4 separate regions of the Homo sapiens genome follow, and regions 2, 3 and 4 are each linked to region 1. Evidence: promoter capture Hi-C in 16 types of primary human blood cells and fetal thymus (Javierre and others, 2016). All regions are on one chromosome and are shown on one strand. Each heading gives the region's core, a stretch centred on a gene start or on the middle of the fragment in contact. The rest is flanking DNA. Distances are from core to core; before and after follow the strand shown. Region 1 holds the start of TSPYL4 (TSPY like 4). Region 2 overlaps RWDD1 (RWD domain containing 1). Region 3 holds the start of CALHM4 (calcium homeostasis modulator family member 4). Region 4 overlaps TRAPPC3L (trafficking protein particle complex subunit 3L).

What was found. Contacts are between HindIII fragments. The CHiCAGO score rates a contact against its expected background, and 5 or more counts as called.
Region 2: a fragment that was not itself captured here is called in contact with the fragment with the promoter of TSPYL4 in region 1 in 8 of 17 cell types (fetal thymus, total B cells, naive B cells and 5 more); the score reaches 10.3 in fetal thymus.
Region 3: a contact is called between a fragment that was not itself captured here and the fragment with the promoter of TSPYL4 in region 1, in 15 of 17 cell types (naive B cells, total B cells, monocytes and 12 more). The highest score is 16.9, in naive B cells.
Region 4: a contact is called between a fragment that was not itself captured here and the fragment with the promoter of TSPYL4 in region 1, in 1 of 17 cell types (monocytes). The highest score is 5.3, in monocytes.

What each region holds. Positions count from the first base shown.
Region 1 is chr6:116,252,466-116,255,680 of GRCh38, forward strand. TSPYL4 (TSPY like 4) reads right to left here and starts at 1,610. Exons shown (of 1, transcript NM_021648.5): 1 at 1-1,610. The coding sequence starts at 1,543. The coding sequence ends at 299. It also overlaps a transcript of DSE not described here. RefSeq lists enhancers at 1,182-1,341, 1,752-1,981. The HindIII fragment of the contact is 9,221 bases long and covers 279-3,215 here.
Region 2 is chr6:116,597,142-116,600,356 of GRCh38, forward strand. RWDD1 (RWD domain containing 1) reads left to right here. Exons shown (of 7, transcript NM_015952.4): 7 at 1-534. Among named protein-coding and RNA genes, the nearest start is that of RSPH4A, 18 kb to the right of the region's middle. RefSeq lists a silencer at 1-32. The HindIII fragment of the contact is 1,103 bases long and covers 915-2,017 here.
Region 3 is chr6:116,553,389-116,556,603 of GRCh38, forward strand. It overlaps CALHM4 (calcium homeostasis modulator family member 4), which reads left to right and starts at 363. Exons shown (of 2, transcript NM_001366078.2): 1 at 363-963. The coding sequence starts at 406. The HindIII fragment of the contact is 685 bases long and covers 1,425-2,109 here.
Region 4 is chr6:116,512,719-116,515,933 of GRCh38, forward strand. All of the region lies in intron 3 of TRAPPC3L (trafficking protein particle complex subunit 3L), which reads right to left. CALHM5 (calcium homeostasis modulator family member 5) reads left to right here. Exons shown (of 2, transcript NM_153711.5): 2 at 2,882-3,215. Among named protein-coding and RNA genes, the nearest start is that of CALHM5, 2.7 kb to the left of the region's middle. The HindIII fragment of the contact is 707 bases long and covers 1,305-2,011 here.

The sequences.
Region 1 (3,215 bases), core at 360-2,859:
GAAAGGCAGTATGGTACACTATATCTATAGTATCATACGCTTGGCATAGAAGCCGTAGAAGGCCATGCACTTGAAACATGTTAACACAATGCAGAAAAGCATGAAGGCCCAGAGGAAGAATGGCACAGGCAGGTAAGCCAACAATCTTGCAACCGATTACTGAAGATTTAGAACCAAAGGAAAAGATAATCCACAGTATGAAGAGAAAGCAGATGGAAGACTGCATGCTGTTGGCCAAGCATAGGTCCAAGAGGAGGTGGTAAGGAAACTTGTGCAGAAGCTTCTCACAGGACAGAGATTAGCCAGACTGGAACCTGAAGGATCTGGCGCTCTCCACTGGCTGCCTTGGTGGGCCTCGAATTCCTCTACGGGGCCCTTCACCCATCAGGTAGTATTGTAGGGGATTGGGCCACAGTTCTCCTTTGATAATCTCTGCAATTCTGTCGAATTCTAGAAGGCTGTGGTCTGAAAACCAGTTGAAGAAACTAGGGATAGTGTTCCCTTCCCGGTTTCTGTGGATATGAGCCTGGGGGTCTTGGCCTCGGTGCCAGCGGATTGGAGTGGAAAGAGACACCACCCGGCCAGAGGATCTGCGTTCATATTCCTTGACAAGCCCCTCATTTCGGAAGTAGGGGTTGCCCTGAAAGATGAACTTGAATTTGCAGCCTGCTCTGGGGTGTTTAAGCTCCTCCACCTCCAAATTGATCATGTACCTCAGCATGTCTTCATCTTGGCCACTGATCATAGGTGACAGCTGGGGGTGGTTTCGAAAGGCAGTAACCCAGAAACCTGGGATATTCTGGATAATGAAACTTCTGCGCTGCATGTGGAGCCTTCGCATGCGGCCAAACTTGCGCTCAAGCTGAAGGAAGGCCCTGTCAGCCTGGGCATTTACGTTTGACAACTCTTGATCGATGGCCTCCAGTGAGTCCATGCAGTTATTGATCTTCGGGGCCCTGGGCCGTGTCTCCTCTTTCACCCCTCCTGCCACCTTTTTTTCCTTCTGCACTACCTTCTTTTCCTCCATCGCCGCCCCTGCTTCTCCCTCCTTTTCCACTGCTGCCGAGATGGCGCGTTTTTTAGTCGTCACTTCCTTGGCCTTCTTCCCCGGTATCATCTGAGACCCCAAGCCCCCTGCGCCACAGGCTTCTAGAGCCTTCTGCCCAGCAGGGCCACGGGGCTCTCCAAGCTGACAGCCATTTTTCTGGCTGCTGTCAGCAGCCTCGGCGGCAGAGGCTGCTTCCAGACCTTTCGTAGAAGGTGGAGCATCCTCCTGCCCGGCTTTGGTCGCTGCACCGCCGCGACTCCCGGCAACTGGGACGCGGAGCGCGGGGCCACAGTCGACAGGATCCTGGGATGCACCCCCCTCCGCAACGGTCTCCAGGCTGCCCCCACCTGTGTTCGCCATCACCTGTGTCGCCTCGGTTTCTTCACGGAGCCCTTGGCACTGGTCTCGGTCCGGATCTCCTGAGGCATGGTCGGGAGCAGCCAGGCCGCCGGTTTGGGCGAGAGGGAGCTTGTTGCCCCCATCCAGGCCGCTCATTTTGGAAGAAGTCAGACTAGTGGGAGAGGGAGAGTTCCTTGTCCTCCGCAGCGGCCGAGCTCTGCCCGAAACGTCTAGCACCACCCCTCCTTTACTCTCGGCGGTGCTACCATGGCAACTGGTGATGTCAGGGCGGTAGCGTCGTAACATCGCGCGAGAACTCTCTGCGCGGTTGACTACGCTTATCAATCCATCGTATTCCTTTGTCTTCTTGTCACAAAAAGAATTTCGTCAGTCTGGAAGGGGAGTTTTACTTACGTAAATGGATGTAGACCAGACTCAAGCATGTAAGAACTGTGTTAATGTGGATTTCTAAGCCTCTGAATGAATTTCTAAGGCACCTAACCTATTGTTTCTGAAAATATTTACTTTAAGGTGAGTTACTGTCTATTCAAGTCAGTTCATAGGGCTTCTCCTGAGTAGGAAAGTGGATTCACGAACTCACAGGCCTTCCTTCTTTTAAGGTGTGGATTCATGGCTATTACCAAAGAATTTAAATGAGCAGAGTTTGATTTTAAAGAGAAGTGTTGCTGTGTTGTTATTTTTAAAATTAAGGAGCAGCTGAAAGGCAAACTTCTCTCATCCTAACAAGACATAATAAAGGAATATTTCAATTTGTCTTACAGATTTTAAAGTTTATATAATTTGGCCAACATCTACAAAACAAGTGGACAATATTTCCTCTTCACTTTTAACAAAGAGTAGCAAAATGTTTTTCCTTACGTAGAGGTGACTGGCACACGAGCACAAATTTAGGCTTTTAAGCATTACTGAAAGAAATATCTCAGGGGATTTTAATTTCTAAACTGATGCATATGTTCTTTTCCTCAGGTTACAATCTTAATCTAAAAGTGGTTCCTGCTTCATAATGCCTGTGGACATGAAGCTAACAAATCTTTTCAAAATGTGTTCATGTGGTAATTCACTGCAGCACAGGAGCAATAATCAGCTATGTGCAGGCATCTATGCTACTGTCTCTTAAAATACTTTAAAAGTAAGGTTAGTTATTGTCTATTCGAGTCAGTTAGCTCTTACAATTCATTTGATAGTGATTATCAGTACAATATATTAGTTTGTTGGAGTGTGAGAATAATGGTGTTAATCCTTAGAAAAATGCAAGACCAAAGGGAAATTTAAATTTTGCATATTTATGTTTAATGTCAAATTTATATTCAAATAAACGGTTATGATTATAACTCTTTGTAAAAGAAACTCCATTTTAAGCCCCCCAGATTATGATCACTTTCAAATACAGGCTCAGAAGTACAGATTTAGAGAAAAAGGATTCCTCTTAGAGGAATACATCATATATACTGAGACTTCTAGCGAGGGAAGGAGTGTAGTTCTGGTTCAACTAAGATAAAGTACTGATGAAAGGTCACTGGCAGACAATACGGAGAAACAGCCTGCCTTGCAGGATTTTTTGTATGCCTAGTCAGCCTACCCAAGGACAATGTGTCCAGAATGACCTCTTTACTGCCTGCCAGCTAATCAGTTATCCCATAAGAAATATGCAAACAAGATTCACACAGCAGAGAGCAATTATTTTTCTCTCCCTCTTTCCTCTTTGTCTTAATAAACGCTCTTTTTTTATTTGTGGGGTGAAATCAATCTATTGAGGTATCGTCTTTGTAAACACATAAACAGCGTGCTATAATTGACTTTGTGACTT
Region 2 (3,215 bases), core at 216-2,715, 340 kb after region 1:
AGGAGGTGAGGGGAGGGGAGAGATAGCAAGTGAGAAAAAGAGAGACTAGTGGTGATGTTTTTAAGTAATTGAAGTAAAAAAGAGAGAGAAAGAGAGAGAGAAGAGGTTCTACTCAGTCCACCAAAGCTTTTTAATTTCCTTACATAATTAACATGATGAATTTTTAAATAATTGTTATATTTAGTTTTGTTCTTCCACCTTTTGGCTATTTCTACTACATATTTACTTATCATAAAAAATACTTCCTAGACCTTCCTCTTATAGCTATTGCCTATCTCTGCCTTTGCAGCTGTTCTCCTTTAAAGAGTAGTCTCCATTAGTTTTCTTGACTTCTTCATCTCCCTGCATAAAGATGAAGGGTATTTAGCTCTGAAAATCCTTTACTGTTGAATATTTAGATTGTTTTCAATTTTTACATAATGAACAATGCATCATGGGATTATTGGCTGCAAATAAATTGGAAACATAAAAGGTGTTTTAAGTTTAAATTTTTTTAAAAAAACAGGTAAAAATAAAATATTTGCCAAAGACTAAGGGTTGCAAAGCTACCTCATGATACACTCTTATACCAATACTAAAATAAACTTCACAACAACAAAATTAGTGATTGGGAAATTACAGTTTTGATGAACTTGGCATTTCAATCAAAGTCATATTTGCCACCGTTCTCTCAGTAGCTTTAGGCCAATTTCCAAATTGCTTTCGACAAATTAGTTTTATTTGTTTATATTATATTATATATATATAATATACATATATTTAAATTATATTTATAATTCTTTCAGTCAGATTTCCTGGAGAACAATAGTTGTTAGGTGCCTACCAGAAAATAGGACTAGAAAGTCATGTTGGAGCCATATTGTGGAAGTCCAAGGAAGTCGGATGGGAGCAAAGGTCATTTCAATTATATATCAAGCTTATATTCTATGGAAACTAACCCCTTCCTAGCACATATATTATTGAAAAATTATTCACCTGCTATTTTATCAATGTCATTTATAAATTAAAATTTTTCTTATTATAACTATACCTTAAAAACACCAATAAAATTGCCAGATCACTGATATTCCTGCTTTTATTATTATAAGATAATATATCAGTTCTTCAAATACACCTTTGAGTAGAAGGATGGAACTGAAAATTGATTTGGGTTTATTTAAAAGAGAAACCTTTCAACAATCCTAAATCTCAGATTTTTAATAGCATTTTTGTTGTTTGAGTATGGCCAGTTTCCTATTTATTTCCTATTTCTTATTGTTTGACAGTGCCCATTTATGTAGGAAAATCAAAATGGAAAAGTACATTAGAAAACGTATAAATCCTTCAACTTAAAGATGTATGATATTGGTATCTGGTTGCATAAGTTTCTAGTCAGAGGCTTTTCTAGTCATTTCTGTTCAAAAGTGGGATCCACCAGAATGTACACGTGATGATGGACCTTGTCTGTCTGTTCCCCAGTTTATTGTTACTATGAGAATAATGCCTAGCAGAGAGCAGGCAGTCTGTAAATACTTGTTGAGTGTATACATGAATAAGTCCTTTTGTACTACTGTTTTGTAACGTACTGTAACTTTTATTTTATTTTTTTGAGATAGGGTCTCATTTTGTCACCCAGGCTGGAATGCAGTAGCGTGATCTCAGCTCACTGCAGCCTTGACCTCCTGTGCTCAAGCCATCCTCCCACCTTAGCCCCCAAATTAGCTGGGACTACAGGCATGCGCCACCACACCTGGCTAATTATTATTATTATTATTCTTGTTTGTATTTTTTGTAGAGGTGAGGTTTCGCCATATTGCTCAGGGTGGTCTTGAACTCCTGAGCTCAAGCAATCCACATGCCTCAGCCTCCCAAAGTGCTAGGGATTACAGGCATAAGCCACCACACCTGGCCGCTGTAATTTTTAAAATAGACAATTTGTCAGATATATAGGTTGGGATAAACGAAAATGTGACAAAAGGAGCGTCCCTCTGCCAATTTAGAAATATAAATATGCATAAAAATACTTAAAGATACACGAAGCTTTGGGAAATTGCCATACACACACTCTATCCCCAGTATACCAGTATTTTACAGATTTTAAAACCAGTAACAAATATTTATTTACAATACCATTCTGCCTAAAATTTACCTATTAGCCAGATTGCTTTATGCATTTGGTCAAATTGCATTTAGTCAAATTGTTTTCAGCCAAACCTTATGCGCACATGCTAGCCAGTGGGATGATAAGAGACAAGAGATGTAGTCTGTCTTCTTGAGGTATTCTCATATTTCCGGGCACATAAATACAGTATTGAATGAAAACTTACAGGATGCTCCAGGGTCACAAAGGAGGGACATCTAAGTTAACCTGGGATTGGGATGGCCCAATGAGTCTTCTCAAAAGAAGTGCTTGAAATGACCAGTTGGAGGGCAGGAGCTGTGTTTTATTTGACTTTATATTTACTGCTTTGTAGATAATCTATACTAAATAATTATTGGATGAAATAATCATTGAAATCTGAAATAATTATTCATGTAGTAATTTATTGGATGAATAAATGAAATCAAGTTGAAGATGCATGGGAACATATTTAAACTGTTGTATCTTGGGATTTAAGCTGGATGAAAAAATAAGTCAAAGGAAGCATTTATGTGGGGAGAAATGGAAGCTACATATCTCTTTAAAATCAAAGATTATTCCTAATGGAAAATAAGGAAAAGAGAAAATTTGAATTCTGGGAGACTTAGGTTTCTGAGAAGTTCTTTCAGATAATGACAATTCAAGAGTGGTTCTTTGAGGTAGGAGATGGCTGAAGTGGGGCAAAAATAATAGTTATTTAATGATATTAATAAGTTATGAGGTTAGAATGTTGAGGACAGGTTATATAGAGGACATTGAAACTGCCAAAGATATGGTAACTCAGATATGTTAGTTGGTCTTAACTCAAAAGGTAAAAAGACAGTCATAATCTTATATTCCTGTAATTTGCACCAGATTTAAAATATAGAATACTGAGCTCAAAGACTCAGAAATGGTTTATTTTGATTAGATGCTTCCCAAATGGCATTAATATTTAAAGAGAAAAAAACAAAAAGAAAAGAAAAATAAAATCCCAACAAAACTTAGGTTTTTCAAGACACAAGACTATTGCGGCTAAAACTGTACAAAAAAGATAAAAAAAAATTTTCTACACTTTTATTGGAAAGATGAATTGCATGTGCAGGTGGCAAGATGA
Region 3 (3,215 bases), core at 517-3,016, 300 kb after region 1:
ACGAGATTCTAGTCTAGTACAAGGTTAAGAATGTCTCTGTTTTGCTTTCAATGCTCTATTTGCTGGTGCTCAGCATTTTGTGTCATACAAAGCAGCACATAGAAAGATGGAGGCAGTCTGCTTTCTAAGCAAGCCACCCTCCTTTTATTATAGTTAAAAAAAAGAAACTCCCCCCTTCACTCATACCTAAAGGAGCTCTCCCTCAATTTCTTTCAGCTGTAATCAATCTGAGCTCAGGGTTTTCAAAGTACACAAGGAAAGATGCTAGAATCCTTTAAACATGTAAGGATGTTGGATCACTTGACACAACCAGTTAAACCAGTAAGATCCCATAAAATGGTTATAGCTGGTGGAGTCTAATGATCAGAAAGGGCCACAAGCTGATTTGTGTAACAGCTTCCCAAGATGTGCCCAACTCTCAACAATATTGTGTCTTCTCTGCAGAGAAATGGAATATTTATCAATTCTTTAATTGCAGCCTTGACTATTGGTGGGCAACAACTCTTCTCCTCTTCTACATTCAGCTGTCCTTGTCAGGTTGGAAAAAATTTCTATTATGGTTCTGCTTTTCTTGTCATTCCTGCCTTGATCCTTCTCGTTGCTGGCTTTGCTCTGAGAAGCCAAATGTGGACAATTACCGGTGAATACTGCTGCAGCTGTGCCCCTCCATACAGGAGAATCAGCCCCCTAGAGTGCAAGCTGGCTTGCCTTAGGTTCTTCAGCATCACTGGGAGGGCAGTTATTGCTCCTTTAACTTGGCTGGCGGTGACCCTGCTGACAGGCACGTATTATGAATGTGCAGCAAGTGAATTTGCATCTGTGGACCATTACCCAATGTTTGATAATGTCAGTGCCAGCAAACGAGAAGAGATCCTGGCTGGGTTTCCATGTTGCAGATCAGCTCCTTCTGACGTGATCCTAGTAAGAGATGAAATAGCTCTTCTGCACAGATACCAGTCACAGGTAAGTTTTTAGAATTTTTTTCCCTCTGCTATGTTATCCTATAGAACTACAGTCAATGGAAACATTTCAGATTCCTACTGCTTCTTATATTCTCTGATTATAGAACACAATACTAGATGCTGTTCATCAAAGTGAGTTCTACTGAGCAAATATATATAGTTAGGATGTTGGGCTTTGGAGTCAGCAGAACTGAGTTTTAGTCTTGCTTTGCCACTTATTAACCTGCAAAACCTTGAGTAAAATGGGGATATTCATGGCACCTACCACATGGGGCTGCTGTGGGGAATACATTACCAATATATCTGGAGTGTTTAATATGATTTCTAGAATCTATATTAAGAACAATAGATTTTAGATGTTATGAATATTATTATTGCTATATTAGTAAATCCCATTTTCTGTATATATATATTCTTAAATATGCATTCTTATATATTACTATCTCATCTAAAATTATAAGAAGCTTAATTATGATGAAAAATAACTCCAGTTATGATTCTAAATTTGGTGTCTATGGATAGGTTTATGTCAGAAAGTGAGGTGGGGTGGGAAGAAAGCCTGAACCCTACTACATTTATAGGTTGAATTTTAAAAGTGCTATTGTGCATTTTGTCAGTAGAAAGAGTGACACTGCTGTCATCAATTTCTCCAAGGGATCTGAGGAAAAAACACATTTTGAAATCATCATCATATAGTAAAAACATGGCTTTTTAAAACTACTTATTGCAAAGGCGTGCATATTTTTTGACTGGTAACCTTAGAGTTATTACATTTCAGAAATGCTAAAGTTATTTCGTTGGGAAAAGCTACTATCAAGACACAGAATATCAAGTTATTGCAATATGGCCCAGTTTTTAAAAAGTTAGAAATACCATTAGATATGCTCTGTCTTAACTTTTTTAATACTAGCCCTAATGCTCAGAGGAGCTATGTAAAAATATGTGAAAATTCAAAAAATCAATAGAAAAATTATAACTTAAAATAATTTTCTTGCTTAAGAAAAGCTAAAATGTAACACACATTGGTAAGATTTTCTTAAAGTCAAAACAAAATGTGTTATTAAACGCATACACAGATTTCTGTGAAAAGACAGTTTTACAGTTCTGAGTACCATTGCCAGTAGATTGTTTGGTTTTGTGACAACAAAGCTTACATTTATTGATGTACTTATCACATACTGTATAAATATTTCATATCTTAATTTAGTCCTGATAATATTGAGAGACTGATATTACTACCCCATTTTACAGATAAGTAAATCAAAGCTCAAAAAGTTTATGTAACTTGTATAATTCAGGGCTAATAAACTGGATCAAGATATCCCAAGATCATGCTATTTCCATTTCACTAGGCCATCTTCTGTGACTGTCTCAGTCACATTTCAAGAATATACATTATTTTTCAGTTAGATTTTTGTGAATTGACCACAAAATCACCTTGAATTCAAATCTTTTCTTTGCCCATGCCCTATTCTAAAATATCTTCCTCACATTAACTTCACTCCATGTCAATCTGCCTTCTAGATATATGCCAAAAATATCTTTCTAAGTGCAAATTGAATGATGAGATCCCTTCCCTACTGCATATAAAGCCCTTCAGTGATTTTCTACTAGCCTAAGAACAAACCCACTTTCTTGGCATAACATGCAAGGCTTCAACATCTGGCCCTTGACCACTTTTACATGACTCCTATGAGCATGTGAGTCCAAATGTGTTGAGGTTCTGCCAACTATTCATGCTATTTTCCTTTACCTTCTTAGAACTCTCTTTACCTTCTTGCATTTGATGAACTTCTTTTTAATAATTTAGGCTTTTGCATTATCTCCTCTGGGAAGTATTCCCTGATAATCCTTTCCCTTAAGTGAGTTCATTCCATTGTGCTTCCTCGGGTGCTCTGATTACTCATATCAAAAACTATCCCATTGTACCATATTTCTTGGATTGCTCATTTGTCTCCTTTTTTAGGCTTAAAAATTATAGAGAAAATGAATGCATCTTTAATTATTCACATCTGAGTTCCCCATAACCAAGCACATGTATTACACATGGGGGAAGGTCAACCTGGAGCTCAGTAAATGATTGTTTATAGGTTAATGGGCATCTGAGATGGCTTTTCCTCCGCCATGCTGGCCTCTGTTTAGTTAAATGGTAATAAATACCACTTTGTAGGTTTTAGCCTCCGTAGAGTACAACTATCCCACTGTGCACACACTGGAAACTTCAGGCCTGTTGGTAAATCACAAGATGCAGAA
Region 4 (3,215 bases), core at 408-2,907, 260 kb after region 1:
GAGATTCTCTTGAATGATTTCTGGCAACTGCTATCTCTGTGTATAAATATTGTCAAGATTGAGAAGAATTTTCCTTGTATGGTAGGAATCAGCAGTTTTTAAATAGCCTTCTGTGAAAAAGTGACTGTACTCTCTAGGGAGATTATGTTTTATACTCTTTGTGCTGTACAGCTAAAGGGGTTCTTAATTACTTCAGAAGCTCAAGATTTGGGCATTGTTTTATTTAACAGAAGGAAATCATATCTTTACCTAATTGATGCAGGGAAGTAGCCTGTCATTCCTCCAGGCACATGAACACAAATCCAGATGTACAGCCTTAGGAAGGACTAACTTCCCATTTATAGGTAGTAAGAATTGCATTCCCAAAAGCAAAACAAGTGGTAAGAGTTGATAAGCAGATCCACAAATTGTCAGGAATGCTATCTGTTTCAGAATAAAGGCACAGAAATAGCATTATTTTACTTTTTCGACAAGGATTTGCCTTGGTAACAACAAATCAAGGCAAAATCTGTTTTTAAAATCATACACTCCAAAGCTGGTTGGCAGTAAAGTCATACTCTTCATAAATTGATAAGTCAAAAAATACTCCAAAACAAAATCTTTTCTTTAATGCATAAAGCACATCTTAGATAAAACATATCAGGCTCCCAAATGTCTTGTGTCTTTTATTGAAGAAGGGTATAACTTACAACTCTTATGACAGAATGATTGATTTATGGTGTATGTCCTCAGTCACCAGGCTCCATTCAGTCAGTGGCAGGCCCAAACACTTATCATTGTGTGAGCTTCTCCTCTCTAAACACAGGTACAAGGAAATCTTGCACATCATGTCATAGCTTAGGCTGAGCACACTGACCTGCTGATTCTTCATCAGAATGAGAAGGACCTGGGGCTGATTCCTGTGGGAAGATGCATAAGGAATGTGGGCAAGAGAACTTGTATCAATAGCAGGTGCTGACTACAGAGGTTCAGATAGGCAGGAGGCAGCATATAGTCCAGACCAACAATAGGTGTACATGTGCCTGGAGGCGGAAAAGAACATTCATCCATGGGTGGGGCAGATAAAAAATCTAGCTGGATGACTCTCTATTCTTAAGGAAGATAGAATGGAGTAGTGGAAAGAGCTCAGTCTTGGAATTGTCTGGCGTTGGGTTTGTATGCTGATGCTACCAATCACCAGCTATGTGACCTAGAACTAGTGGTTCGACCTCTTTGAGTCCCAGTTTTCTCATAGTTAGTGGTAATATCACTTACTTTGGAGAGTTGTCGGAAGATTTAGAGATGATAGATACAAATGGGCATAAAGCTTCTGGTACACAGTATTTGTTCCAAGTCAATGAGGAAAACTGCCATGGTTTGGGGGAGGACATATGCAAAATAAGACACTTTTGAGGGCTGGTATGGAAGCATCCACCAAGCTCTAGTTTGACTCTGGGTACTGTGAATTGAGGGAAAGCATCGGTCAATGCAAACGTCATGTGAAAGGGGGAAGGGGACCTGAAGCTGATGGAATAGTTTATAATTCAGCTGGAACTGGCTCAGGTACTGAGATGAGATGGCGTACAGAAGCCTCAGCTGTGGAAAAAGAGGAAGACAGACGATGAAGGAAGGAGGAACATATAAGGTAGCCAACCACAATCCATTCAGGGACTTTCACTTGATGGTAGTTGTGCCTCACTCATTAATTATAAGTACAGAAAGATATTATGAGTTCAGTAACACATTTACATAAGTGTATATATATTTGAAGAATAGCAGCATATAATATTAGCTAAAACTTAATGAATACATGTGTCCAGTATCATTTCATTAGGTCCATCAAATTACCCTTCAAGGTGAGTAACCCTCGTTTCACAAGTGAAGAAACTGAGATAAAAAGAATACGCATAGTAAGGGGAAAGTTTAGATTTAAACCTGAGTAGTGCCAGTCCAGAGTTGGCATTGGTGCAGAGGTTGAGACCCTTCACAAACACTCTATATCTGAGTCAAAGGTTGGGAACCACTGATTTAAAGCTTATTTGTGGTTTTGTTATGGTCTGAATGGGTTCATTTGTAGATTATTATTTCTATTTTCAAATAGGCTCATCTGCTAAAGAATATTAAGGATCATTTAAACTAAATGTCAAGAGACACTTTGAAAAAGATGTTAGTTTTCCAAACATAAAATTAATTTCAATTGTGAAAACAGAGTTAGAGCCAAAAAAGTTAGAAGATAATTTAAGCTATTTAAACTTCTGCTTTTAAGATCCAGGGGAGAAAAGCTGAACCATTTCATATTCAGGAAAGAGTTTGTTTTTTCTAATTACCAAAAATCAAGACAAATCATTTTCAAGGTTTTAATGATCCTAATTTTTTCTCAGCCTTTAAATTCTTATAGCTTCAGCTTCCTGATTGTATCGTCTGTCTCCCTTTTCCATGGACAGTAAGTAATGACAGAAAAAAATTAGTCTCTAGCCATGTATATACATTTATCAATGCCTAAAAATGCCTGGCTGAAGAGCTGGTCATTTACTCAAATGACCACATTTACTTATGCACAGAATATTTTCCTATCAGAGCTAATACTATTTGAGCTTGATTTCTGTAAGTCTTATGTAATCTATACTTTGTACTCTTTTCTATCTGCCTGCCTTCTGGTTATTTCTTTGCACCAGCAATGTTGGGGAGGAGAATAGAGATTAGGTAAACCCTAACTTTATTTTGAGTTTACCTAATAAATTCAAAAAGTGAGTTTAAAGTGTTTAAAAATTAAGATGAATGATTTCAAATGAGGTATGTCAAAGACTGTGGTAATAATTTAGCTATACACTTCTCAATAATACCCCAGCTCCCTAAATGGCTTTGCTTTCACGTGTGTACTCAATATTTCTTTCTTCTTAAGATTCTAGGATGGTGCCTGATTTGTTCAGCGTCTTTCTTCTCTCTGCTCACCACATGTTATGCTCGCTGCCGATCTAAAGTTAGCTACCTTCAGCTGAGTTTTTGGAAGACATATGCACAAAAGGAGAAGGAGCAGTTGGAAAATACATTTCTGGACTATGCCAACAAGCTGAGCGAGAGGAACCTGAAATGTTTTTTTGAAAACAAGAGGCCAGATCCTTTTCCCATGCCTACGTTTGCTGCCTGGGAGGCTGCTTCAGAGCTGCATTCTTTCCACCAAAGCCAGCAACACTATAGCACCCTCCACAGAGTGGTGGACAATGGTCTGCAACTTA